Linked DNA regions of Homo sapiens: region 2 is linked to region 1. Evidence: promoter capture Hi-C in 16 types of primary human blood cells and fetal thymus (Javierre and others, 2016). All regions are on one chromosome and are shown on one strand. Each heading gives the region's core, a stretch centred on a gene start or on the middle of the fragment in contact. The rest is flanking DNA. Distances are from core to core; before and after follow the strand shown. Region 1 holds the start of MYCBP2 (MYC binding protein 2). Region 2 has its middle 200 kb from the start of RBM26.

Region 1 (3,505 bases), core at 312-2,811:
TCTACATCAAGGAAGCTGAAGGTGTAGCCAACCCAAGTAAAAGAGACAAATCTACGCGCTATTCAGATTTTCTAGCTAGTGGCAGTTGAACGCTGTACCAGCTGTCATATTCTGAAGTTCTGCAGTTTTCCCCTTTTCCCTACAAAACCCTCTCTACTCTAAAGCCTGTAAGTAACAGAGGAAATCGAACAGAGGATGAAGAGAAATGGCCGATGGGACATCAGATCACAAGAGTAACTGCAACCTCATTTCTAGAAGACCAAAAGGCCCGGTTATCAAAGTACAGCTCTAAAAATCTCTATCAGACACCTTTCGCATCCACACAGATCTCCATCTGCGTCCCTTATTCATAAATCTTTTTAAAGCAAACCTCACGCCTATCCCTCGGGCCTGCTTATCCAAAACTCAACCAATCTATACCATGACTCCTCTTGGTGAAAGGCAGATTGAAGGGAGGTGGAAAGGGCTGGAAGGAATGTCATGGGAGAGGCGGCACGTGCAAATAACATTGCGGCAGAGACACTGAAAACGCCACTTCCCTTGCCACTGTTGCAATTCTCTTCGTGTATCATCCTCTTACCCTCTCTACCCATGCCACCTCCTACCTCAACGATACACACACGTGTCACAGCCGACCAGCACCATCGCCTTTTCCAGCATCACAGGTTCCCCTACCACCCCTCACTATCCCCCCACATAGGCAGGCAGACACACACACACACACACACACACACACACACACACACACACACGAGAAACTGCAGCCACCGCACCCTCCTATCTCGATAAGTGCTCCTGCCAACAGACATCCAGAGCGGACTGAAAGCTCAATAAATGCGCAGGTACACACACGCAAGCACACACACACGCGGGTGCACGCGCGGCATGGGGCGCAAGGAAGGGCGGCATGGGGCGCAAGGAAGGGCACCCTGGGGACGCACCTGGAGGCTGGGTGTCCAGCGCTGCCGCCCCCCTGGTCCCTGTCATTGAGCGCAGCGGTATAAATCCTCCGGTAGCGGTCGGCCAGGGCCCGGCCTGACAGCAGCAGCTGGTAGTGACCCCGGGAGTCCGCGGCGGGTAGCCCCAGCCCCAGCCCCGCAGCAGCCACGGAGCCGTCGGGAACCGGCATGAACAGCGCCCCCGGCGCCGGGGAGGAAGAGAAGGTGGCGGCTGGGTAGAATCCGTCCCCGCCGAGCCCCGAGGAGGCGGCGGCGGGGGAGGCAGTCGCTGCGCACATCATCATCCTCGCCGCCGCCGCCGCCGCCGCCGCCTCGTCCCCGCGGGCCGGGCGGGCAGACACGCGCGCGCACACACAGCCCTTTTCCAACGACGACGGCTCCGGCGGCGGCCTCTGGCTCCCGCAGCAGGGAGACTACAAAGACAGCGACCTCCTTCTCCTCCTCCTTCTTCTCCTCCTCCCCCCCGCGCCGCCCTCGCCGCTACTGGGGCCGCTCATCTAACCCCGCCACCCCGGGAATGTGAGGAGGAGGCGGTGCCGCCACTGCCGCCGCCACCACCGCTACCACCGCCACCACCGCCGGGGCTACCCGCAATGGGAAGCTGCCGGCCTCACAGAGCATGCGCCACTCCTCGCACATGCTCAGTAACTGCCGCCCCTTTTCCTCCCCACCCCCTCTCCGCCACCACTCCCTCCGCCTCGGGGCTTTGGGTTTGGGGCTGTTGGGTTGTGCGGAATCTGAAGTAGTCCACTTCTCCGGGTTTTACTGGCAGCTTGAAGAAGAGTAAGGAAAGTGCTGGGGAGGCTGTCAGCTACTGACGTTCGACTTCAGGTTCCCTCCAGGTGGAAGAACGAGGACCAGAAAGCAAGGGGGAACGTGCCCATCGCCAGAGGAGGAGTGGCACGCTCTTCTGCTACCTCTTCTCCAAGGCTCTGCTGCCAACAGGAAGATTTACTGTGAATTGTGCTGGTTAATTCAGAGTTTAAGGCAGAGAAAACCATCCCAATTAGAAGTGCCTTTAGCGATCTTATTTTATATGGTTTTTGTCATTAGGATTTACGCTTGTTTAACACAGCTTTTACTTACAAAGACAGGTAGTAATCTAGCACATTCTTTTTTGTGTGTGAAAGTATTTTGTGTGTGAAAGTATAACAGATAGGCTAGTATTCACAAGCCAGAGTCATTCCCAAATTCTTGTTCTCAACGGAGCAATAATATTTTTTAAATTACTCTTTTTTATTGACTCCTCACTCACCTAAGAGTGCACTTTTATCTCTTGGCAGTGGTCATTTAATGGTTTATTTTTTTCTGCCCAAACTTACATTTTTAAAGATAATTCTTGAATGCGATCTGAAACAATAATTGTGACGGAGACTGTATAGCGTCTGAAAATGTCAGATCCATCACATATCTTGTTGTTGTCTATAAAAAAGTAACATTTGCTCAGTCCTTTGTTCCAAGCTAACCTACGAACCCCATCTAAGTATATGCTCTAGAAATATACGTGCCAATGCACTTTGATTCCTACTACGTTTTATCCTTTGACTCTCAATTTGAAGAGTTTCCTAATTTACAGTCCTGACAAAATAATTTATAAGTTCTGTCATCCCAGTACTGTATCTTTCATCTATGTACTAGTTCTTATATCTGTGCCTCTTCTTCGGATGGCCTTCTCTTAAAAAAAAATAAAATAAATGTTAAAAAATCCTCCTTAGTGTTTGAGAAGTGCAAACAACAAGGAATAGGAAAGTAAATTAATTCTAGTTTTAGGGTGGAAGGTTGCTGAAAGCAATGCATTTTTTTCTGAAGCTTTAAATAATGGATGGATTTCATTTAGTTTTTTTAAAGATAATTAGCAGTGGGATAAACATAGGAACAAAGGACAAGACATGTGGAATCATAGTATTTTAGTACTGTAATTAGCCCTGTTAAGTTTTTGTATTTGTCTTGTTTCCTTACCTAAGTTCCTTCAGAGCTTGCTGCTTTTGTGTCTCCTTCAGCCACTTCAGGACTTTGCATGTAGTAGGTATCCAGTAAGTATTTATTAGACTAAATTTCTATCCTAATGCTTCAGCACAGTTAAAGACCTCAGTGTTGACCAGGCAGCCCCTAACCCTGGAGTGAGAACCAAGACAATGGTGTAGAGGCAGCTAAATTCTAAGAATTCTAAGGCCTGACAGGTAAGCAATGAGAGGGCCCATTACTATTGCAAGACCTAGCAGGGTAGCTAAAAGGCTCTGAAATCAGACAGCCCTGGAATTGGATCCTGACTCTGCTACTTAATACTTGTCTGGCTTTGGGCAAATTATCTCCTCTGAATAATGCTCAAAAGAATACCCACTACATGAGATTGAGGGAGGACTTAAAGGATCTAGGATGTCCAACTTGGCACATGAATTTTCACAAATGGTAGCACATACTAAACAAAACACTAGGTTTTCCGTAGGGTAGCAATGGTGTCTGTTCAACCATCACAGGCTCCTAGCACAGGGTCTAGCCCTGAACAGGAGGGAAATAGATGTTGGCTGAATGAATGAATGTTGCTT
Region 2 (3,505 bases), core at 274-2,773, 1.9 Mb after region 1:
GAGGTTGCAATGTATTTCTGGGCACTAAATCTTTAAATAATGTTCTCAAGTAGAACCTTATCAAGAGTACTCCGAGTAAAGCAAAGGACAAAAAGTCTTCAATAACAGTATTGCTATCATTGGTGGTGGTGGTGGTGGTGCTTTTCACTTTGTTTCTTTTAGTCATAAATCTCAAAACCCATTGCCATTCCATAAATGTAAAATGTATTACACATAAATAAGGCAACATAACCATGCATTAGATTTCTGGTGGACTACCTTGCTCTAAGAGTAGGAAAAACATGTTTCTGAGACTACTTTCTTTAATTGCATATCATGTCTCTTCCATCAGGTTAAACGTAGAATCCAGAAAGATCATTATTGGCACTTATAGTATCCAAAAGGGTCTGGAGTGCTAAGATGCCATGTTGGCTACTGAAAACTACAAGAAGTAACCTTTAGAAATCTTACTAAAATTGCATCTATTATAAACCAGGCATCATTTGGGGCTACCCTGTCCCTCAAAGAGTTGTCAAGCTGGCTCCCCTGATTTCACTTCTATGTGAGTCCAGAATCCTCCATACATTTTTGGCATATTTCTGACCTGTCTGCTTTTCCATTCCTAATGAGATCTGCCATCTCAGTTTGACCCTGCACTATTTCCCATGAGAAAGCCAATGACCCTCATGAATACTGTGAGTTTAGTAAGTCAGCTCAGCTTGACAGTTACAGAAAGAGAGGTCGTTGTTCCCCACACAGCATTCTCCAGCCCACAGGCCTGCCTCCTGCTCCTCCACCTCTGAGAGAACCAAGACCCTTAAAAAATGTCCATGCCCACCATGGCCTACATCCACTGCATCTGGGAAATGTCCACGCCCACCATGGCCTGTCCACTGCTTCTTGGAAATGTCCACACACACCATGGTCTACATCCACTGCTTCTGGGAGATGTCCACGCCCACATGGCCTATGTCCACTGCTTCTGGGAGATGTCCACGCCCACCATGGCCTACGTTCACTGTTTCTGGGATATGGAGCAGCCCTACACTTTCACTCTGGAATTCAGCGGAATAACACGTCTGCTGTCTCACTACAACTTCTCACCCTGAAGAATTGGTGAGAAGAGCCATATTTATTTATGGCTGAGGCTTCTCCCCTAGGCCCAACCCCACAAGTGGTCTTACTTCTTTCCGGGAAAAACAATAATGGTTTCCGGAGCTTCTCCTCTCTTAAACCCAGAAGACCTCATCACTCTTCCTACTTCTATCCAGATGTTCATTTATTGGAAACTCCTGAGGGACAACCTGCGTGTAACAAGGTGGCTGCCTTAACCACAAATGAACCTGACAATTGATTTATGGAATCCGAGGCAGTTTAAATATTTTCTTAATCTATCTGACACGATGCTGAAGCCTTCCAAAGGGCAGGAGGTAAATAAATTCCTGTGTTTACACATGTTAGAGAGATCAGCTTCTCACAAGAGAATCACAGATGTGAGAATAATCACTGTTGGCAGGCTTGGGCCACCTTTGAGTCACCTCCTCACCAATGGTGAGAGGTACCTGTTCTTCCCCTCCTCCCTGCTCCTTCTTATATAGACAGCTTGGCAGTGGGAATGGAGACATGGAAAGCAATCATTCCCATATCAACCCACTGTTAATGTCTGAGCTGGTACCCTGGATTGACACTTTTGTTCAGTCTTACTCCCTCCTATTAACGAATTTCGTGCCCATCTTTTCCTCTTCCAAGATCAGTTTTATCAACCGTGAAATCTAGGGTGGCCAAAGTGGCATTTAAAGAGACCTTACCTCTCTTGGTCTGTGTTTCTCCAGTGATGCTTATCTACAAAGGGCTTCTTCCGCAACTAGCACTGACCATTAGTCTAATTTTTTAGGACACATGCTATGACATATTTTCTAATGGCCCATTGCAGGAGGCTCTCAAATAATAGTATGTGTGTAGTGACCCTTTCTTCTCTATTTTGTTTTATGAGCAGGAGCTGGACATTAGGATGCACACGAGTCCAAAATTTGGTATCAAAGTAATTAACTCACTTTTGAGTCCCAGCAACAACCACATGGCTGAATGAGTACTGTCAGACAATGTGGCCCAAATGTCACATACAGCCTTTCTGTCCCTTGAATATTAGCTCAACTTTGATCAAAATGCCCAGCTTCATAGCCCCTGTGAATTGAGCTCTCTCCCTATAATTTTTGTGGATTTTTTTTCTCAAAAAGGGTAACACTGATGTTTGTTGTGGACTCTTGACCTTAATTCCTCTGGTTGCTCTCAGTTCCTATATGGGGATCTGACACCCGAGTTCTGCCCTCTCACAAGTCACTGTACAGACCAAAAATATTTCACTGTTTTCCACAAGAAATGCAATTACATTCGTCAACTTAGTGAATTCAACAATGTGTCTGAAGCTCTAACAGGCTACAGAGAGTATCGTCCCTCACACAGCTTTCCCCATCTCACTGGCTCCCTCCATTAAGTTGATGTATAACCCTTCCTCACACAGTCTACCCATTGAAAAATAGGATCCAATCCACCTGCTTAATACTGTTTCTTTTTCAGGTAGCCACATCTCCAGGAAAGTCCATTTCCTCTAAGTCCCTTGGAATTTCAAAACTTAAAAATTTTCTTCAATCACCTACATTACGTTGTTGGGGAAATGCTCCTGCCAACAGCCAACACCTGAAGGGTCAAAGAAAGAAAAATTAAATGCAGTCATGCGCCACAAAATATTTTGCTCAGTGATGGACTGCATATGCCATGGTGGTCTCCTAAGATTGTAATAGAGCGATAAATTCCCATCACCTAGTACATTGTACGCATCATAACATCATAGCACAACACGTTATTCATGCTGGTGTAAACAAACCTATTGCACTGCCAGTTGTATAAAAGTATTACACATATAATCACACACAGTACATAATACTTGATATGATAATAAATGTCTGTGTTACTGGTTTATGTATTTACTATGTAGTTTTATACCTTTTTAGAGTGTATGCCTACTTATAAAAGAAAAGTTAACTGTAAAACAGCTTCAGGCAGGTCCTCCAGGAGGTATTCTAGAAGAAGGCATTGTTATCATAGGAGATGTCAGCTCCATGAGTGTTGTTGCCCCTGAAGTCCTTCCAGTGGGACAAGATGTGGAAGTGGAAGACAGTGATATTGATAAATCTGGCCCCATGTAGGCCTAGGCTAATGTTTGTGTCTTAGTTTGTAACAAAAAAGTTTAAATGCTAAAAAATAAATTTTTAAAAATAGAAAAAAAGCTTATAGAATAAGGACATAAAGGAAGAAAGTATTTTATACAACTCGGCAATGTGTTTGTGTTTTAAGCTAAATGTTATTACAAAAGAGTCAAAAGGCTAAAAAAATAAAAATTTTATAAATTAAAATGTTACAGTAAGTTAAGGTTAATTTATTATTTAAGAAAAAATAGTTTTGGCCCCATGCAGTGGCTCACGCCTGTAATCCCAGCACTTTGGGAGGCCGAGGCAGGTGGATCACA

Evidence for each region. The method cuts DNA at HindIII sites, captures the fragments that hold promoters and counts their contacts. A CHiCAGO score of 5 or more calls a contact.
Region 2: a fragment that was not itself captured here is called in contact with the fragment with the promoter of MYCBP2 in region 1 in 1 of 17 cell types (total B cells); the score reaches 5.0 in total B cells.

What each region holds. Positions count from the first base shown.
Region 1 is chr13:77,325,533-77,329,037 of GRCh38, forward strand. MYCBP2 (MYC binding protein 2) reads right to left here and starts at 1,562. Exons shown (of 83, transcript NM_015057.5): 1 at 942-1,562. The coding sequence starts at 1,243. It overlaps LOC127898562, which reads right to left and starts at 1,456. Exons shown (of 1, transcript NM_001414702.1): 1 at 1,373-1,456. The coding sequence starts at 1,456. The coding sequence ends at 1,373. LOC107984564 (a long non-coding RNA gene) reads left to right here and starts at 1,513. Exons shown (of 2, transcript XR_001749930.2): 1 at 1,513-1,603; 2 at 1,732-2,666. RefSeq lists enhancers at 1-41, 1,712-2,041 and silencers at 982-1,101, 1,142-1,521. The HindIII fragment of the contact is 13,146 bases long and covers 1-2,766 here.
Region 2 is chr13:79,200,050-79,203,554 of GRCh38, forward strand. No RefSeq gene overlaps it. Among named protein-coding and RNA genes, the nearest start is that of RBM26, 200 kb to the right of the region's middle. The HindIII fragment of the contact is 3,482 bases long and covers 1-3,264 here.